Linked DNA regions of Homo sapiens: regions 1, 2, 3, 4, 5 and 6 are each linked to region 7. The links are contacts of gene promoters, found by promoter capture Hi-C in blood cells and fetal thymus (Javierre and others, 2016). All regions are on one chromosome and are shown on one strand. Each heading gives the region's core, a stretch centred on a gene start or on the middle of the fragment in contact. The rest is flanking DNA. Distances are from core to core; before and after follow the strand shown. Region 1 overlaps PKD1L1 (polycystin 1 like 1, transient receptor potential channel interacting). Region 2 overlaps PKD1L1 (polycystin 1 like 1, transient receptor potential channel interacting). Region 3 overlaps TNS3 (tensin 3). Region 4 has its middle 9.3 kb from the start of LINC00525. Region 5 overlaps PKD1L1 (polycystin 1 like 1, transient receptor potential channel interacting). Region 6 overlaps TNS3 (tensin 3). Region 7 holds the start of TNS3 (tensin 3).

Region 1 (2,700 bases), core at 66-2,565, 240 kb before region 7:
CTCTGCCAGGACGTAGCCCTCTGGGGTGGGGTGGCTGGGGGCGCTGCTGGGGGAAGCATCCAAACCAAGCAGAACAGGCCCAGAGAAAGCATTTAGGAAACAGGCAAAACTAGTAAAGTATTAGGTTATAAAATTAAAAGACAAAAACCAATATCATATTTATATACAAGCAAAAGTCAGAGATTTAATACAAGACCATATTCAACAAAGCAAATAATAAATACAACAAAATACACTTAGGCATAATCTTAAGTATAAGTTTCTCTAAGATTTCAGTGAGGAAAACTTCCCTATGACTTAAAATCCAGACACAAAAAGGGAAAATAAAAGTAAATTGGATTACATAAAACTTGAAGAAGAGAAAGAAATAACTCCTACGTAAAAAGAAACTATTTGTAAAATAAAATGGCAGTGACAAACTAGGAAAAAATACTTGTAACAAAGTTTTAATATTCTTTTTTTTTTTTTTTTGAGACAGAGTTTCGCTCTTGTTGCCCAGGCTGGAATGCAGTGGCTCAATCTCAACTCACTGCAACCCCCGCCTCTCAGGTTTAAGCGATTCTCCTGCCTCAGCCTCCCAAGTAGCTGAGATTGCAGGCATGTGCCACCATGCCCGGCTAATTTTTTGTATTTTTAGTAGAGACAGGGTTTCACCATGTAGGTCAGGCTGGTCTTGAACTCCTGACCTCAAGTGATCCACCCACCTCAACCTCCCAAAGTGCTGGGATTATAGGCATGAGCCACCACACCTGGCCTAAAGGACCAGCAACTCTTTAAAACAAAAAAAAAGTGGACTGGAAAAGTGAACAGAGAGTTCACAGAATAAAAGAAGTTCAAATGGCCCTTTCACTTACAGTAAGAGAATTGCAAATTAAACTGTGAAAATCCAAAAATGTGACCACATACTCTGTTAGTGAGGCTATGTCAAATAGAGCATTTCACACAGTGCTGGTGTAAATGCAAAATGGTACAGCCACTATGGGGGAAATTTGAAGTCTCTACACAATGATAGATTCATTTACGATTTATCCAGCATCCACACTTTTTACAATCACTCTTACAGACACAGTAAGTAAAACATGAACATACCCACACACAAACCAATTTATGTGGGACCTTTTGTAATGAGAATATCCTAGAAAGAACCCACACGTCTTGCTGGAGGGACAGGAACACAGTGTAGTAGTGTCCAGCTATGTAGAAGCATGAAGACTACCCCTCCAGGCTCCTAGGGAGAGGCCTGCAGGATTCGCTGCAGGAGGGAAGCCAGGTAGAGGAAAGCGGGTATGCTGTTCTGCCCACTGCTTAATGAAAGGGGACAAGAATATGCGTGCCTGTAGATCCGCTCACCCTAAATAAAACAAGGGAAAGGCAATCCAGGCACCTTTAGGAAATAATAATAGTTACTTATGGGGAGAGAAGGAATAAGATTTTTTTAAATCTGTGTTAAGGTTAAAAATTTGACCATATAAACCTAGTCTCTAAGGACGGAAAAGAACTAGGGGAAAAAACTCTAAAGCTGTTTTCACCAATCATATTGTTAGTGGAGCGTTAGTATCTTTATTTTCATTGTTGATTTATTGTGGGGTAAAGGAAATGAAGAATTCTGTTATTTTCTAATTCTGTCATTCCTGGTATCCTTTAAAAGTGGAATTCTTGATATGAGAGAAAGAAGGTACAGATTTGAGTTCAAGGAAGTCAAAACTCTGCAGTCCTGAATTTGAATTGAAAGTATAGGTATGGAATCATGTGGGTTTTTAAAAATATTTTCCTAGATTTTTCCAGCAAGAAAAGGCCTAGAAACAGCCCAGAAGCAACACACACTTTTAGCACCTAGATTTGGTCCACCAAAAAGAATTAGAAGTAACTGGGATTCCTGATTTGAAGTTGGTGATGGAAAATGTACAAGATGAACCTGGAATGTTTCTTAGGCAAGGGAGCAATTAATAACTGCTAGAGTCATTGTCAGAGGACCAAGAAGCCAGTTTGAAGAGGCTCACATTGGTCAAACATGGGATAATTTGACATCAAGATTAGAAACTACTGAATTGAAGTTCATGAAATCTATCTAAAGCCATGAGCTGGTAACAACACCCACAATGTAATTGATCAATGTTGGTGGACACTCAGAAACCAACTTTATAAAAGCCAGTGAAAGCCTGCCTTTCCTATACAGACCATACCCCTGGGAAACCACATAACAGGAGGGGGGATATTTCTCTTTAGAGAGGAATTCCAGCTAATGAATGGGGACCAGGTAATAGAATTAGAGCCTGACCATTTTTGCAGTTTTAATGAAGTAATGAATCTGGGCATTGCTCATTAACAGTGGTCAATATAAAAGAGAGAAGGAGAGAGAGAGAAACATCAGACATTATGTGTTTCCTCGTGGGAAAACACCATCATCTATGAGGCAACCTACCCAAAACAGTCCAATCTTAATCTGATGAAGTTATTTTGCCAACTTGTAGTTTACAGTAAGAGTATGTTGATATCACCCTGGAAAGCAAGACAGAAATCTATAGTACAAATAACCACTTGCTCAACAAATAAATCGCAAAGAAGCAAAAATAAATAAAGATGATACCTATGGACTGGAAGAGACACGAGGAGGAAAGTAATTAATGTAATTCACCATATTAATAGACTAAATAAGAAAAACCACATGCTCGTCTCAATAGAGGCAGAAAAAGCATTTGA
Region 2 (2,850 bases), core at 150-2,649, 190 kb before region 7:
ATAAACAATAGTCCAGGAGTACCATGATTAGGAAAAATTTGTGCTATGCTAAATGTTGATGGCTACCAGCATCCATCTCTGTCTGTCCCTCACTGCCCAAGCTTTGTCCAGGCCCCAGCTACTGCCCAGGCACTGACGCCACCTCCCCTGCAGCTCCTCACAGCCCCTATAGAGAGCAATGTGTCCTGCTTCTGAACTTGCTCCTGAAGGCATCAGGCATGTGCCTTTTCATGCTCTTTTTTCTTTCCCAAGTGTGAGTGATACCTGGAGCAAGATTAGAAGCCTTGTGCTGAAGATGACAGAGCTGCCTTTCTAGGATGAGAACTGTGCCAACTTCCCCCTGCTTATGTGAAAAATAAACCTGGATCCTGTTTTGCTCTGAGGAATCTGGGGGCTCTTTGTTATAGCAGCAGCATGGCTTTTACCTAACTAATTTCTCACACTTCACACTTGCCTTAGAAACTATACTTACACTAATGCAGCCCCCAATTATATTATTATTTATAACCTTTGACAATAGTTTTGACTGTAAATGATGTAAAACATGACCCTAATTGACTGAAACTGCAAGGAAATGTGTTATCTACAAAACCAGAAGTTGAGAGGTAGGGCAGATGCCATCTCTGCATTCTGCTGTGTGCTGGCTTTGCCTCAGGATGGAGGACACCCTGCTTGGTTGCAGGATATCTGCTACAGGTCCAGGGATCACATCCAAAGATGAAATGTCCATGGAAGGAGGAGACCATCTCCTTCGGTCTTATCATTAGATATGAGGAAACTTTTTCAGGAAGTCCCCAAGAATATTTTCCCTCAAACTCATTCCTAAATTGATCATGGTGAAATGGAATTATCATGATTAATTTAGACTAATCATTTGGGATAGTCAGAATTTAAGTGTCAGCCGGGTGTGGTGGCTCGCGCCTGTAATCCCAGCACTTTGGGAGTCTGAAGTGGACGGATCACTTGAGGCTGGGATTTCCAGGCCGGCCTGGCCAACATGGCAAAACCCCATCTCTACTAAAAATACAAAAATTAGTTGAATGTGGTGGCGCATGCTTGTAATCCCAGCTACTCAGGAAGCTGAGGCGGGAGAATTGATTGAACCTGGGAGGCGGATGTTGCAGTGACCCAAGATTGCACCACTACACTCCAGCCTGTGTGACAGAGCAAGACTCCTTCTCAAAAAAAATAAATAAATAAATAAAAATAAAAAAGAATTTAAGTGTCAACCAGTAGGATCTTTGGAGGTCTCAACACCTCCCTACCCATCCTTAAATTTTATTGCGGAGCAATGTCTTTGCTCCTGTACCTTTCTCTCCATAATGGTGCTATTTATTGCGTGGTCATAAATACAGTTCATTATTATTCCTGTTAGACTTCCTATGTTTATCACAGCATTCCAGGTTGAATTGGATTCTGGTAACACTTATGTTCAACCTACCTCCCAGCTTCAAAACTGAATCCTATAATATTTACCAAATACCTACTACATTCTCAGCACTGGGGTATGAAGAAAAAAATTCCTCAGCCATCTCACAATCCAGTAAAAGCAAATGAGCAAACAGGTGTGGAGATGCGCTAGGCTTGGGGCCATGCTGAGTCAGCTGCTGGAGCAAATCAGGGTGCATCAGAGCTGGAGCTGAGAGACCTGGAGGAGAATTCCTCAAGGGAGAAGCAGCCAGTGACAATGGGGGACCCTGGGTTTTGTTTTTTTGTTACTGTTCTTGTAATGTCTTTATCTCATATTAGTATCAGGATAACGCTGTCCTCCTAGAATAAATTTGGAAATATTCTCTCTGCTTCAGTTTTCCGGATGGGTTTGACTAGAATTGGAACTATTTCTTTCTTAAATGTTTGATAGAATTCACCAGAGATGCCATCTAGAATTGAAGTTTTTTATTAGAAACTTTTTAACTATGAATTCAATTTTTAAAGAAGTATAGGACTATACAGCTTATCTATTTCTTTTTGAGATAACTTTGGTAATGTGTATCATTAAGGAATTTTTCTATTTCATCTCAGCTGTGAAATGTATAGGAATAAGTTGTTCATAATATTTCCATTTTATCCTTTATCTGTAAAAAGTGTAGTGTTGTCACCTCTCTCATTCCTGATATTGGCAATTTGTGTCTTTGTTGTTGTTGTTATTCAAAGACAACATATTTGTGTCTTTGATATGTTGTTATCATCCTGGCTAGAGGCTTGTCAATTTAATTGATCTTCTCAAGGAACTAGCTTTTGGTTTCATTCGTTTTCTCTATTTTTTTTTTTTTTCTGTTATCTACAGCACTGGTTTCTGCTTTGATCTTTAGTATTTATTTATTATTTACTTTTTTCTGTTTACTTTGAGTTTAAGTTGTTTTTCTTTTTATAGTCTTTCACATAAGAGCTAAGGTCATTTAAGACCTTTCTTCTTTTAATATAGGCATTTAGTGCTACAGATTTCTCTCGGAGTATTGCGTTAGCATTCATCCCTGAATGAAAATGATATGTTTTCATTTTTATTGAGATAAAAATACTTTCTAATTTCCCTTTTGATTTATTCTTTGATTCATGGGTGATTTGGAAGTATATTATTTAGTTTGTATGTATTTTGAGATTTTCCTGATGTCCTTATGTAGCTGATTTCTAATTTTATTCTGCTGTGGTCAGAGAACATCCTGTGTCTTGAATCGTTTGAATGTTATTGAAGCTTGTTTTAATGGCCCAAAATATGATCTAACTTGGCAGATGTTTCATTTGAACTTTAAAATATTTGTATTCTGCTGTTGTTGAGCAAAGTGTTCTGTAAATGTCACCTTGGTCAAGTTAGCTGATGGTGGTGTTCAGGTCTGATCAGCACTTGCTGCC
Region 3 (2,834 bases), core at 134-2,633, 200 kb after region 7:
TTGCTCAGTTTATCTTGCCGATAGGAGCAATTCTGACCTACTTTGGGGATGAAAGCTGGTTTTCACAGCACTCCTTTCCCCCTGTGGACACTGTGCTGGATGGGGACGCATGCCAGGCTGAGCAAAGCTGAGACCGCCTCGGCTCGTTGCCTCAGCACAGCCATATACCTAGAGCCTGCCTGGCTGTCTGTCGGGGAGACCTGGCATGGAGGTCCATGGATCGGGGTAAGAGACAGGGTGACCACTTTGCTATGTGAGCCAGGAGTGTTATTAGAGCATGTCACAGAGAGGGAGCCAAGGTCAAGGCCTGTCGAGGGTGGACACCCAGTGACAGTTGCTCTGGAGCTGGGAGCCCAGATTTAAATCCCTAGGGCCCGAGAGACTGATGCGAAGTGCAGGGAAAGCCATTGACCCCAGGAGCTGGGAAAACAGGTTTCTGTGGACAGGAGGAGGGCGTCCCCAGCAAATGTCCTGTGTGCGCTCCGCCTGCACCTGCCTGTTGTGGATGTGGGGGGACCCCCTCCAGTTGATAGGGCCTAGGTGGAGGGTACAACTGCTCCCAGGAAGTTTTCTTCCACATAGCAAGAGCCAGAGATGTGTTTAGTGTTTCTTTATAAGTGCATAGTGATGATTTCTTAACAAGGAAAATACACCCTTTGACATAGTAGTCTTTCAGACTTCACTATGGAAAGTTGAATTAATTTAGGATTCATGGTGTTGACAGTCTATGGGAAATTATACTATGAAAATTCAATAGTATTTATTTTTGTCAGTGTGAATGTGAGCTAATTTATGACCTGGGATATATTCTCACTGAAATTAGGCCAAACGGTTAGAGCAATAGCAAGATTTGGTGTTGATTGATTGTGGGAATTCTGCCAAGATCTCAACAGCCGTCCTTTGGTGGCAGCAGTAGCCATACATTGCCCCTGAACTCGTAGCAGTGAGTCTGGGATGCTGCTGGGCCCCTGACTAGGATGAGGCAGAAGGAAAAGCGGCGGGGGAGCCACCGAGTGATGGGCACTATGGGTGCTTTCCTGAGGGTGGGAAGAGGCTGCGAGGAAACCATCTTTCTCGTAGTATTGGGAGTTCATTCTTTATTCCTGTACATGTAATATATTGCTCTCTTGTTAATCATAAATCGGAGGATTCCAATAGGTCACCTGGGGAGTGAAGGCAGAGTGTCACCTTCTGGGAAGCTCATGAAAGAAAACCAGAGGCCACGTGTGCTTGTCAGGCAGGCTCTGTAGGATCCAGGATGCAGTCTCCATCTCCTCCCTGCCTCTCTGAGCATCGGCAGTGCTGGATGCTGCAGATACAGAGCTGAATTGGATGGCACAGCTCCGTGCAGAGGCCAGGACAGGGCTGGAATGGCTAATGGTTGTTGTTGTCAGAGCTCACCCTTGCTGAGTGCTGCTCACGAGCTGCACAACCTTCCGAGCATGCAGCTTGCATTAACATATCTAATCTTTACCACACTGAGGGGTCAGAGGGCTAGTTGGTGAAGCCAAGAGTGGGGGCTTGGTCGCCGGCTGTGAATCTCCTTCTGCTGATGTGCTGAGCTCAGTTCAGGCAGGGACTGGATTGACAGAGGCAGGAGACTGAGAGCACCATGAGTGTGTCCAAAGCAGGGTGCCTGGTGCAGGAGCCAGGATGCAGAGAAGGGTAGAGAGCAGACTGGGAGTGAGTTCACTGGCTGTGGCGTCACTTGACCTGTACAAGGCAGGCGAGGTTGTCTGTTGGGAGTGGACAACAGTCTGGGGAGTGGAGGTGTTGAGAGCTGGGACAGCTTGGAGGAGCTTCCCCTGGCAACAGGTGGTTGTTGGGTGAGCAGTGTGGTGTGCCCAGTGATGTGTGGACGCCACACTGTTACGGCCTCTGTGATTTCAGAGGCATGCACATCAGCAGGGGCATGGACGTGGGCCACAGGCGAGGGAGACAGCAGGCCTTGTGGGTCTAGATGGGCTAGGAGAGGAAGCACCATGGATCTGTGTTGCCCTCGATGTCTTAAATTTGGTGCTGGAGTTAAACATACATTGGCTGTGACTCCACTGTGCTGAGGGAAGGGCTGGATACATGCAGAGAAGAGCAGGAGCCAGGGAGCTGTAGCGGCTGCTAGAGAAAGGAGAGTCCTGGCCACCACTCCTGAAGAGCTCAAGGCTTTCAAAGTTTGGTGGAAGTTGAGGGTATGTCATGAGAAATTCTAAAGTCAAACCAAAGAAAGTTATCTAAAGTCCAAAGAGTCAAGGCCAGGGCCTCAATAAAATGTTGATGGTTTCCCAGGAGAAGCCACAGAAATGCCGGTGATGAGAGTGTTTGAACCTGGACCAAGGGAGGCATGGACGTTTGGGGGATGGGCTGGGAAGTGAGGGGCAATGGCAGCCCGCAGGGCTGGAGAACGCTGTAGCCAGGGGTACCAGTTTCCAGAGAGAAATGAGTTTTGGGTGAAAGTGTTCTGAAGTGGAGTGCAGGAGGCACAGGCTGCCCCTTCCCGGCCTCTAGGCACACAGCTGCCCCTCCAGAGACCCCCTGGGACGGGCCTGTCTGCCCATGTGGGTGGGGAGGGGCCTGACATTGGAGCAGGGATCACACAGGCTCAGTGTGGTGGACAGGTAGGGATGTCAGCTCAGGAGGATGAGTCCTTGGAAAGAAAGTTGGGAGAGGAGCAAACGGTGGAGACAGTGGGGGGAGAATGGGTGGTCACGGGCTGGAGGGACCTGCATTTGTTGAAAGTTGGTGGTGTCATGTTTTCAAATCAGAACTTTCTACCAGAAGCTATCTGAATTTAGATGTCACTTTCATGTGTCTCTCCTTATGAGGAGGAACTTCACAGG
Region 4 (2,705 bases), core at 72-2,571, 170 kb before region 7:
CACTGCTAGGTATGTATTCAAAAGAAAGGAAATTAGAATATCAAAGGTGTATCTGCACTCCCATGTTTACTGTCACACTGTTCACAACAGCCAAGATAGAGAATCAACCTAAATGTCCATCCACAGATGAATGGATAAAGAAAATGTGGTACGTATACAGAAGGGAATATTATTCAGTCATTATAAAGAATTAAATTCTGTCATTTGTGGCAGCACAGATGGAACTGGAGGTCATTATGTTAAATGAAATAAATCAGGCACAAAAAGACAAATATCACACGTTCTCACTCATATGTGGGAGCTAAAAAGATGGATCTCGACCAGGTGTGGTGGCTCACGCCTGTAATCCCAGCACTTTGGGAGGCCAAAGTGGGCAGATCACTTGAGGTCAGGAGTTCGAGACCAGCCTGGCCAACATGGTGAAACCCCGTCACTACTAAAAATAATAAAATTAGCCACGCATGGTGACGGGCACCTGTAATCCCAGCTACTCAGGAGGCTGAGACAGGAGAATTGCTTGAACATGAGAGGCAGAGGTTGCAGTGAGACAAACTCACGCCACTGCACTCCAGCCTGGGGGACATGCAAGACTCTGTCTCAAAAAAAAAAAAAAAAGTGAATCTCATGGGGATAGAGAGTGGAATGGGGGTTACCAGAGGCTAGAAAGGGTAGTGGGAGGGGGAAGATGAAGAGAGGTCAATTCATGAGTACAAAAATATAATAGAAGAAGGAATAAGTTCTAGTGTTTGGTCACACAGTAGGGTGACTAGTTAGCAATAATTTATAATATGTATCAAAATAGCTAGAGTGTGGATCTGAAATGCTTCCAACACAAAGAAAATATAAATGTTTGAGGTGAAGAATATCCTAATTAGCATGATTTGATTATTACACATTGTATATACATGTGGCAAAATACTACCTGTAGCTCAGAAATATGTACAATTATTATCTATCAGTGAAGATATGTTTAAATATATATGACAGGGAGAAGGAAGAGAAAGAGATTGAGAGAGAGAGCACAAATGTTGAAAAACATTAACATTTGGTGAATCAGGTGACATTTATATAGGTATTCAATGTATTAGCCTCTCAATGTTTTTATAAGCTTTGAAACAAAAAAAAATGAGAAAAAGTAAATGTTAAATCAAATCCTTTCTAGGAAAAGAAATGAAGTAGAGTCCTGTAGTTCCGATCAATTTGTTTATTTTGGTTCTCACCATTGAGTGTGGATCTGAAGTGGCTTCTCTCACACAGAGGTGGTGGAGGAGTGGCCACCTGGCACCTCTGTGGTTTGCTGAGACACAGCAGGGGTGGAGGATTCCTTCTGCTTCCCCATGGGAAAGGGGTGTGCATGGCTTCCATTTCCTACTATGTCAGGAGTTGGTTTCTTCCGGTGGGTTCTTGGTCTTGCTGACTTCAAGAATAAAGCTGCACACCTTCATGGTGAGTGTTACAGCTCTTAAAGGTGGCGTGGACCCCTAGAGTGAGCAGCAGCAAGATTTACTGTGAAGAGTGAAAGAACAAAGCTTCCACAGCATGGAAGGGGACCCCGGTGGGCTGCTGCTGCTGGCTGGGGTGGCCAGCTTTTATTCCCTTATTTGTCCCCGCCCACATCCTGCTGATTGGTCCATTTTACAGAGTGCTGATTGGTGTGCTTACAATCCTTTAGCTACACACAGAACACTGATTGGTACGTTTTTACAGAGTGCTGATTGGTGCATTTACAATCCTTTAGCTAGACACAGAGCACTGACTGGTGCGTTTTTACAGAGTGCTGATTGATGCATTTACAATCCTCTAGCTAGACACAGAGCACTGATTGGTGCATTTACAATCCTCTAGCTGGACAGAAAAGTTCTCCAAGTCCCCACTCGACCCAGGAAGTCCAGCTGGCTTCATCTCCCACCACCAGGACCCCAGGTTATCCCCACTGTTCCCAGCCTGTCATATAAGTTCTTGGAGGAAAGCGCACCTAATTTTCTTGCCAGTTCTGCTTGTACATTTCCCCAGTAAATCTGGGTTGGTATCTACAGCAAGAGAGTCTGGCATTGCCTGGGCCCATCAGCCACACCACCTCACAAGCAGAGCCTCCTCCAGGGAGGACACTTCTCGTTTGAGGGAGAGGGCAGCCTTCTGTGACCTAGAGATCCCTAGAGGTTCTTGGTAGGCACACAAGAGTTTACCCTGTCTTCATCACCGTCCTCCCCAGGACCACACGTTCTCTCTTTCAGTTATCACTCTGTGTTTTCCTAATCATCTTTGGCTTGCTCTAAGCCCTTCTTTGCCTTGCTCTAGCTCCTTGTGGTAGCCCACCACAAGAACCACATCTTTGAAGGCCACCTCCTGTTGTGTCTCTAATTTATCTTTCAATCTGGAAAACCTGTGCCTCCTCCGAGATGAGGTTTCTGCAATGAAGCTGCGCAATATATTTATACAACATCGACTGCTTTATGTACCATGCTGCCCCAAGGCACAGTAATCAGTTCCAAGAAAATGAGCTCAAATACTTTGTTCCAAAATGGAAAGTGAAATTCAACAGAACAGCCAGCCCTGCTTGATGGGATTCTTTCACATCACGATTACTACTACTTTATCTGAAAAGCTTAAAATACTACTTGCCATAATTATCTCTTAACATTTAGGTGGTGAACATACTTCACCAGGAAACTCTGAAATGACACTCACCCCTCAACAAAATCTTG
Region 5 (2,842 bases), core at 161-2,660, 220 kb before region 7:
TGCCTCAGGGAGCTCACAGTCCATAGGGGAAGACTGGCATATACAAATAATTGTGGCAATTTTTATATTTTGAATACAGTTTTTAAATTGGATATGTGATTTGTAAATCTGTAGCTTCTCCTTTTATTCTCTTAACAGCATCTCTACAGAGCAGAAGTTGTAAATTTTGATAAAGGCCAGTTTTTCAATGTTTTCTTTTATGGATTTTGCTGTTGGTGTCCTGGCTCAAATGAATTGCCAAACCCAAGGTCACATATTTTCTCCTATTATTTTCTTCTAGAATTTTTTTTGTTTCTTTGTTTTTGGTTTTTTTGTTTTTTTTTTTTGAGACAGAGTCTCACTCTGTCGCCCAGGCTGGAGTGCAGTGGCGTGATCTCAGATCACTGCAACCTCTGTCTCCCAGGTTCAAGTGATTCTCCTGCCTCAGTCTCCTGAGTAGCTGGGATTACAGGCGTGTGCCACCACACCCAGCTAATTTTGTATTTTTAGTAGAGACAGGGTTTCGTCATGTTGGTAAGGCTGGTCTCGAACTCCTGACCTCGTGATCCTCCCGCCTCAGCCTCCCAAAGTGCTGGGATTACAGACGTGAGCCACTGCACGTGGCCTTTCTTCTAGAATTTTTATAGTTCTATGTTTTACATTTAGGTTAATCATCTGTTTTAAGCTAATTTTAATGTAAGATGTGAGGTATGGAACAGAGTTCCTGTTTTTTATAAATGAATATCCAATTTTTCCAGCACAATTTTTTTGAAGAATATTTACTCCATTGAATTGGCTTTACAACTTTGTCAAAAAGCAATTGACTGTATCTGTGTGGATCTATATCTGGGTTCTCTATTCTACTCCATTGATCTTTCCTTTAGCCAATCCCATGAGGTCTTTTTCACTCTGTGGCAAATCTTAAAGTAGCATGGATGAGTCCTCCAGCTTTGTTCTGTTTTGACTGTAGGTGTTCTAGCTCTTTTGCCTTTCAATATGTTTTAGAATCATCTTGTTACTATCTTTTTAAAAAATCATGTTGGTGTTTTGATTGAACTTGCTGTGGAATTATAAATCAAATTTGGGGGGAATTGGCATCCTAATAATATTAAGCTTTTTTGATCCTAGAATTCTGTATTTCTCTCCATTTATTTAGATACTCTTTGATTTTTTTCATCACTGTTTTATAGTTCTCAGCATACAGATCCTACACAATGATAGGCAATTTTAAAGCCTAACTAGAAGTGTCCTCAAAGAGCAAGAAACTTAGATCAGAGACTCATTTATTCTTCCTAGGGAGACCAGGAAATCTTCATACAACAGGAGAGTGAGCCTTGATGAGCAGTTCCACTCATGGTGATGACTGCTGAGAGCAGCATTTTAGACAGGGGGCATGCAGGGAGGGCCATGCTGGAGTTCTGGGTCAAGTGGGCATTATGTTGAAAAGGATGGTTGGAGTCAGGAATGGAGGGCCTTGAATGTCGTGCTTAGGCACCTGGATGCTATCTTCTGAGACAGGCAGGCAATATTGCATTGAGGTCTCTGGGTGGAAGAGTCAGGTCTTGCTGTCTGCCATGGGTGTGTTGCTGGTAAATCCAGGAGGCCTCAGACCTACACACCAATGGCCTACCCTTTCAGGCTCCTGAGCATCTTTGCAGAGTTCTGAAATTTTGTGAGGGGTTCGAGGGATTTGGGGACCAATCAAGAACAAACATATGACCACAAGAGATGATAACACACACAAGCTTTATCTGGGTAATGTTTTGAAGTGTTTCCATGTGGGGGAACTCCCTCATACTTCATGCTATGAAACTGTCCACAGGTTTACAGCGTAGGGGCCAAGAACCATCCAAAAAGGAAGAAGAGCAAGGGCGATCTCAGGGGAGAGGGGCAGCAGAGAGAGAGCTTACCCCTTAGACGATGCTGCTTAGCAGCATGGAGGGGAGGCTCTGGGTCAGAAAGCTCCTGAAGCCAGCAGCAGCTTGGGGCCTTATAACATTATCAGTGGGTAACAGCTGTCCCCTGAGGTTTTGCAGGGTGTGTAAAGCTGACAGGCTCTAAATGGCTAAAATGTTTGTTTGGGTGTTTTTTTTTTTTTTTTTGAGACGGAGTCTTGCTCTGTCGCCCAGGCTGGAGTGCAGTGGCGCAATCTCTGCTCACTGCAAGCTCCGCCTCCCGGATTCACGCCATTCTTCTGCCTCAGCCTCCCGAGTAGCTGGGACTACAGGTGCCCACCACCACACCCAGCTAATTTTTTTTTTTTTTTTTTTTGTAATTTAGGAGAGACAGGGTTTCACCATGTTAGCCAGGATGGTTTCAATCTCCTGACCTCATGATCCGCCTGCCTTGGCCTCCCAAAGTGCTGGGATTACAGGCATGAGCCACTGCGCCCAGCCCTGTTTGGGTTATTTTTTAAACAATTGGATGTGTAAAAATTCGAGTTTGTTACCAGTAGGCTTTTGAGCTAACAGCTTACAGCCTGCAGTGAAGAAATAAACCACCTGGAGGCTTATAGAGCACATGTTGAGGGCACAACAACTTGCTGAGCCCAAGACCCTTTCTGGTCTCCCAGGCACAGGCACAGGCCTCTCTCCTGAGGCTCACCCACAGCTCAGAATGGTTCACCAGGGGACACTGAAACTGAGACACAGACTTTACATATGGGCATGCACATCGCGTTGATAATCTCAGTCTCCAAAGTTAGATACTGAAAACAACCTTTATAATACAATGAATTTCCATTGCTGAGATCATCTTACTGCCATTTAGTTCAATTCAGGAGAGGTATTTTCCTGATTTTGCTTTTTTTCACCAAGAAATCACTATTTTACCAAAAGCTCGTAAAGTAGCATCATCAGATATA
Region 6 (2,936 bases), core at 422-2,921, 230 kb after region 7:
GCTTTATTCCTAGAAGATCACATCAAGATAAATCAGTAGCTTATGGGGACTTTACCTTCTAGTGCCCAGATAGAAAATGAAAGAAGGCATGTTTTAAAATAGGTAATGTTCTAGCATGTCATGAGTTTTCACCTGTTCTTATTTTTTAAGTTAATTAATTAATTTATCATTTGAGATAGGATCTCACTCTGTCACCCAGGCTGCAGTGTAGTTGGTGTGATCACAGCTCACTGCATCCTTGACCTCCTGGGCTCAATTGATCCTCTCACCTCAGCCTCCAGAGTAGTTAGGACGACAGGCATGTGCCACCATGCCTGGATCATTTTTTTTTTTTTTTGTATTTTTCTGTAGAGACTGGGTTTCATCATGTTGCCCAGGCTGGTCTGGAACTCCTGGGCTCAAAAGATCCACCCTCCTCAGTCTCTCAAAGTGGTGGGATTACAGGCGTGAGCCACTGTGCCCGGCCCCTGTTTTTTCTATGTTTTAATTAACTTATTTATCATCGTATTTATTTAAGGTGTTTAACATGATATTTTGTTTGTTATATCTATACATAGGGAGAGGATCACTACAGTCAAACCAATGGACATATCCACCACTTTACCTAGTTACTTTTGTGTAAGAGCACCTAAGGTCTACTGTCTTAGTCAATATTGCATCCTGAAGATTTGCTCAGGGAGCGGATTCCGTCTCTTTTAGAACAGAGGTTGGACACTTTGTCTTGCATGTTGGAGTCACCTGGGGAGCTTTAAAAATGCAGACGCTAAAAATGTGGGTACCTGCTTCTACCTCCAGAGGGTGGCAGATTGAGTTGGCCCTGGTGGGGCCTGGATGTCAGACTTGCTTTAAAAATGCTCCCCAAATAATGCAGTGCTAATTCAGGGTTGAGACCTGCTGTGATTCTTGAGCTTGGTTGTGTGTTGGAAACACTAGGGAGTTTTTAAAAATACTGACACCTAGGTCTCACCGCTGGAGGTTCTGACTTCACAGGTGAGGCCCGAGCTTTAGGATTTTAGTGATAAAAGGTGGACAATGGCCTTTGAGAACCACTGTTGTATATTTGCAGTTCTCAACTTAGGTGCGTGTCCCAGCCTCCAGGAGAGCTGGCCCTTGGCTCATTGAGGCTGGAACGTGCCGCAGGGTGGTTCTAAGATTTGTGACCCTGCTGTGGAATTTAGAGGACAGCCAACAGTCACGTATTGGTTATCAGAGGCAGAGGCAGGCGACCCCATGGGCTGCCTTCCACCTGGGTGCTGGCTTTATTTCACCAGGGCAGAGTGGGCTATGTGACCCCACAGTGGAGAGAATGCAGTGACATGAAGTGTGTGAGTGGGCAGCATGGTGGGTGTCCGCTCCTGAACACTTGACCCATCTTCCTTCCCCTCCCTCATCCCACTTCCCAGCAGAGCCTCAGGGCCTGGGATCTGCCAGGCCGTGCGCTGGCAAAGATCAGTCTCCAAGAGCAGTCTGAATCACAGAATCACAGCTCAGGGTCAACATAAGTACTGACTTACCTATCAGGATGTGTTATTTTACACTCTCAATTAGTTTACATAATTGGGAGTTCAGTGTATTTGGACAAGGTGGAAAGTTGCCGAAGAGCTTTGTGGGTGTTTTAAACAAAATTTAAAAAACATTTTCTGGCTAAGCGATCTGAGAAGCCCTCTCCTGCACTTCAGACTGCTCAGGGGTGAATTGATGGCAACAGTGCTGACCCCCAGGCTGGGCTGAGTTCAGTCCCACATGTGTTTAGTACAGCACCCAGTGTCTTGGCCTGAATCCCTGATTCTCCAGGGCTCTGACGGCGATGCATCCCCTTCTCACGAGGCCCCTGGGTGCCCCCAGTCAAGGACTGGCTTTCCTGCTCTTTCCTCAGAGCACGTGAGGATTCCCTGTCAGGACCGTCCCCCACCCTGTTGTGGTGGCTTTGGATAAGGTACGTCATAGGATGCACCTGGGGCTGAGGCCCCACCATCCCCAGCTCCTCCTGTGGGGCCGGAATGACTGAGCGTCCTCCTGCCTCGCAGGCTCGGTGTCCTTTTGCACCCTGTGGTGAATCCCAGATCCCGCTGGGCGTGGCGGAGTCTCAGGTGACCCTGCGCAACTTGCTGGCTGGGCAGCCCTCAGCACGTTTCCTTATCTGTCCTTGACGCCGGCTCCACCCGTGAATAACAGTGAGACTGCTAAATGAGGAAACATGCTGGTCTTTGGGAGTGGCAGTGTAGGGGACTTTGGGGCATGTGTCCCATTTTATACTCAAGGTCACGTGGTTCCCGAGGCTCTGGGTGGGTAGCACCCAGTGTCTGGAGGGAAGGAGGCTTGGGCGAAGACAGCTAAATGCCTGGTGTGGGGACTGCCCAAAGAGATGGGCAGCGTCCAGTCATGTGACCTTTGGAGACCATGTTACCATGTCATGTTTTGGTGGACAATGAGCGTGTCACCGCGACAAGAGGGGCACAAGACTGTGTAAAGAAAAAGCCACTGCCTGTCCCTCCCTCCACAGAGACCCCAGCTGCATGGAGTGGGTGAAGCTGCACATCACCTGCAGATCACCGGGGTCTGTGTTCACTGGGGGTTTCAAGGGGCCTGAGATTTCTGCACTGAGTACTCATGACCTTTGTAAGGAGAGGATGCAGGATTTTTTTTTTTTTTTCCTGGCTGGGAACTGGCAGGGAAGTAAGGGCAGCTCTTCCCCAGCACCTGGGCCTCAGGCTGGGAGCAGGGTGGGCACAGGTGTGAGAGATCAGGGTGTGTGTGCCATGGGTGCAGCCAGATGCAGGTGCCCCCCTGCCCCACCCCAGGGCTTTGGGAGCTGCCCTTTGCCCGTGAACATCCCTGTGTGGGAGCTTGGGTTTTGTTCCCTTTCTCCTTGGTTTTTCTGAGAAGGGGTACGTTGGGGAGCTGGGGGTGGGAGGGCGGATCGCCCAGAGCCCTGC
Region 7 (2,700 bases), core at 143-2,642:
AGTGTAGGAAAAATGCCTGCCTCATCTCTAGGGGCTGGGGCATGGTGCTCATGAAGCCTTTGCCTGGGAATAAATACCCAGATCAGTCTGGGGATGAGAAATGACACTACCTTCCAGAGCACAGCAGGGGTTGTTCAAGTCTTCCAGAAAAGCAGCTCTTGTTTCTCCTCATGTGGTGGGAGTGGAGTCAGAGCGTGGCTCAGGCCCCACATTCTCAGCTGTTTGGATCTGGGGACTCGAAGTTTCTGGTGGTTACTTCTGAAAGTCTTTTCCAGGATAATTATTCTTGCTCGGTTTCTCTGCCATCTCTGACAGGCTGTTTTCCCTGCTTCCCCCGCTGCCCTGAAGGGGCCAGAGGAACAGGGCAGGACCCCAGGGCTGCGGATGGGTTAGGCAGCTCTGTTCCCGAATCCAAAGCAGTTCTTGGTGACTGTCCTCCAAGACTTGCCCTGGACCCTGCTCCGGGTGGGATTCTGAGACCGCCTGCTCCACGTGGCAGATGAAATCTAGGTCTCTTCTGTGAGAGGCTGGCGGGGAGGATGTTTTCCTGGAAAGGACCACAGGACAAACCGCTGATGAAATTTCTCTTGTGACCTCCCTGGAGGAAGAGCACTTCTGATTTCTGCAAACTTTTTCCATTCCCCCGATCTCACAAATGGGGAAACTGAGGCTAAGCGACTGAGTTCAGGGCCATCTGAATCTCAGGGATGGACAGTCAGGATGGACAACCTATAGGCCTTTCCTCCTCTGAGAATCTCTCTGCTCGGGATCGTTTTTCTGGTTTCCCCTGGCTTGCCTAAATTCTGCTCATTTGTCCCGGCGCATTTTAAGAAGTCATGTGACTTCTAAAGACTTCCCTGACCTCCTCCCTTCATTAGCTGGGTATTTCAGGGGCTTCTACGGCACCCTAGGCTTTCCGGAGCGGCTGTGCTCCTTTATGTATGCGCGACTCCCACTAGGCTATGAGCTACAGGAGGGAGGGTAGGTCTTGCTCCCGGAGAGCACCTTAATCACAGGCGCTGAATGAAAGAATGAACTGGTTGTGCAGGAACCAGGATCCGAACCCGCCTCCCCAGGTACTCTAACACCGGCCCGGCGGAACCTGCAAGCCTCCAGACCACTTGGAGCCTGGGCTGCTCAATGGGTCTGATAATTCCAGGTCCTCTCTGCGGCCAGCGAAGGGAGGTCCCAGGGCGCACCTCGGCAGGGCGGGGGACCCCGGTGAAGGGCGCCTGGAGGCGCGCTGCATTGTTAGGGTGATGAGGCCAGGTGACCCGCCAGGCTCGGGGCGCGGGCGCGGGGGCCGGCCGTGGCGATTGCCCGCGCCGCCTCGAGGGGGCCCTGCCGCGGGCGCCGGCAGCCAGCCAGGAGGACGGGCCCGCCCGCGCGCTACTCGGAGCCCAGCCTCGTTGCGGCCATCGCCCTGCCGGACCGCGCCTCAGGCTCCCCCAGGTACTGGGGCCGGGGAAGGAGGAAACGCGGCCACGCGCCGCGGTCCTCTTTGTTTCGGGCCCGGCGCGGGCTTTCGCGCTCCGGGCGCAGGAACGAGGCTTGGGGAGCACAGAGATCTGGAGCTGGGGCGCGGGGACTGAGTTCGGGGAGCGCGGAGACAGAGTTCGGGGAGCGCGGGGTACGGGAGCTCAGGGCGCGGGGATGGGGTCACGGGAGAACCCAGGTTAGGGAGCGCGGGGACCCGGTTGGGGGCGCACGGGCAAGGGGTTTGGTGCGCGCGGGTACGGGGTTTGCGGCGCGTGGGGGGCGGGGGCTCGGCAGGAGTCCCAGGACAGGGGCTGGGGCGCGGGCCAGCTTCGCCGGAGTCCGGGGACGGGGGCGCTGACTGGCTGGGTTTGGGGACTGGCTGGGGCGCAGGACCACTCGAGTGGGACCCGTGGCGCCCGGGCGCCCTGGACTGAGGGCAGAGACCGGAGCAGCTATGTCGCAGTCGCTGTCGGGACCGAGCGGACTTTGCTCCCTAGGACTCCGTCTCGAGACTCCAGGTGGAGAGCGCAGCTAGGGGCTTCAATGGGCAGGCTCAAGACCCTTCTCCTACTTTTTCTAGGCAAGCTCTCCAGTGCGTCTCTTTCCCTTTCCCTTTGGTGGGTGGGAGGCAGGGGGTCTTTACGCGCTTCCTTTTTTTCCCTGAAGGACGGGACCTCGGGGTGGGGGGATATTCTGGGGTGGGGGGTGCTGTCCCAGGCTGGGGGCCAGCTGTGTGGCATGTGCCTCCTGGCACGCGGGAGCTGTCGCTGACAAGCAGGAGGAGGGAGGGTCCCGGACGGCCCAGGGGTCTCTGTGTCGGTGCTGTGCAGCGGCCTGACATGTGAGTCCCGGGTCCTTTGCTTGGAGTGATTTGAGTGTCTGTGGCGGGAAGAGATTCAGGCGTTCCTCAGGCATTCTCCAGACAGTGTCAGCAGATGACCCGAACTCCAGCGTGGTTGAAAAACTCAAAGCGCCATCAGGGTGTGGGGCCAGCAGAGAGCACTACTGAGGGTGGTCACAACCCCCTGGGAAGCCCCCAGGCTTCCTTGGGGCGCATTCACACACTTTGATCTTCCGGGTTGGCTTTCCCCCCATTTTTTTCACTATTTGAATGCATGATCATGGAGGACTCTGAAAATATACTGAAAAGTATGAATGCAGAACTCATTGTATTAATATTGCATGGCCCTTCTGAACTAACCAACCCTTTGACATTTTAGA

Evidence for each region. Contacts are between HindIII fragments. The CHiCAGO score rates a contact against its expected background, and 5 or more counts as called.
Region 1: a contact is called between a fragment that was not itself captured here and the fragment with the promoter of TNS3 in region 7, in 5 of 17 cell types (total B cells, M2 macrophages, M0 macrophages and 2 more). The highest score is 18.5, in total B cells.
Region 2: a contact is called between a fragment that was not itself captured here and the fragment with the promoter of TNS3 in region 7, in 9 of 17 cell types (total B cells, naive B cells, M0 macrophages and 6 more). The highest score is 23.1, in total B cells.
Region 3: a contact is called between a fragment that was not itself captured here and the fragment with the promoter of TNS3 in region 7, in 1 of 17 cell types (total B cells). The highest score is 5.9, in total B cells.
Region 4: a contact is called between a fragment that was not itself captured here and the fragment with the promoter of TNS3 in region 7, in 3 of 17 cell types (total B cells, naive B cells and M0 macrophages). The highest score is 14.9, in total B cells.
Region 5: a fragment that was not itself captured here is called in contact with the fragment with the promoter of TNS3 in region 7 in 9 of 17 cell types (total B cells, M0 macrophages, naive B cells and 6 more); the score reaches 24.6 in total B cells.
Region 6: a contact is called between a fragment that was not itself captured here and the fragment with the promoter of TNS3 in region 7, in 1 of 17 cell types (total B cells). The highest score is 5.0, in total B cells.

What each region holds. Positions count from the first base shown.
Region 1 is chr7:47,823,303-47,826,002 of GRCh38, reverse strand. All of the region lies in intron 45 of PKD1L1 (polycystin 1 like 1, transient receptor potential channel interacting), which reads left to right. Among named protein-coding and RNA genes, the nearest start is that of PKD1L1-AS1, 29 kb to the right of the region's middle. The HindIII fragment of the contact is 4,787 bases long and covers 1-2,700 here.
Region 2 is chr7:47,775,241-47,778,090 of GRCh38, reverse strand. The region is part of intron 56 of PKD1L1 (polycystin 1 like 1, transient receptor potential channel interacting); the gene reads left to right. Among named protein-coding and RNA genes, the nearest start is that of LINC00525, 15 kb to the right of the region's middle. The HindIII fragment of the contact is 2,591 bases long and covers 104-2,694 here.
Region 3 is chr7:47,383,945-47,386,778 of GRCh38, reverse strand. The region is part of intron 16 of TNS3 (tensin 3); the gene reads left to right. Among named protein-coding and RNA genes, the nearest start is that of SNORD151, 79 kb to the left of the region's middle. The HindIII fragment of the contact is 5,773 bases long and covers 1-2,834 here.
Region 4 is chr7:47,750,868-47,753,572 of GRCh38, reverse strand. No RefSeq gene overlaps it. Among named protein-coding and RNA genes, the nearest start is that of LINC00525, 9.3 kb to the left of the region's middle. The HindIII fragment of the contact is 421 bases long and covers 1,111-1,531 here.
Region 5 is chr7:47,796,239-47,799,080 of GRCh38, reverse strand. The region is part of intron 54 of PKD1L1 (polycystin 1 like 1, transient receptor potential channel interacting); the gene reads left to right. All of the region lies in intron 1 of PKD1L1-AS1 (PKD1L1 antisense RNA 1), which reads right to left. Among named protein-coding and RNA genes, the nearest start is that of PKD1L1-AS1, 2.4 kb to the right of the region's middle. The HindIII fragment of the contact is 632 bases long and covers 1,095-1,726 here.
Region 6 is chr7:47,354,325-47,357,260 of GRCh38, reverse strand. The region is part of intron 17 of TNS3 (tensin 3); the gene reads left to right. LOC124901629 (a long non-coding RNA gene) reads left to right here. Exons shown (of 2, transcript XR_007060319.1): 1 at 1-2,936. Among named protein-coding and RNA genes, the nearest start is that of SNORD151, 110 kb to the left of the region's middle. The HindIII fragment of the contact is 8,931 bases long and covers 1-2,936 here.
Region 7 is chr7:47,580,803-47,583,502 of GRCh38, reverse strand. It overlaps TNS3 (tensin 3), which reads left to right and starts at 1,392. Exons shown (of 31, transcript NM_022748.12): 1 at 1,392-1,452. RefSeq lists enhancers at 981-1,518, 1,519-2,056. The HindIII fragment of the contact is 9,706 bases long and covers 1-2,700 here.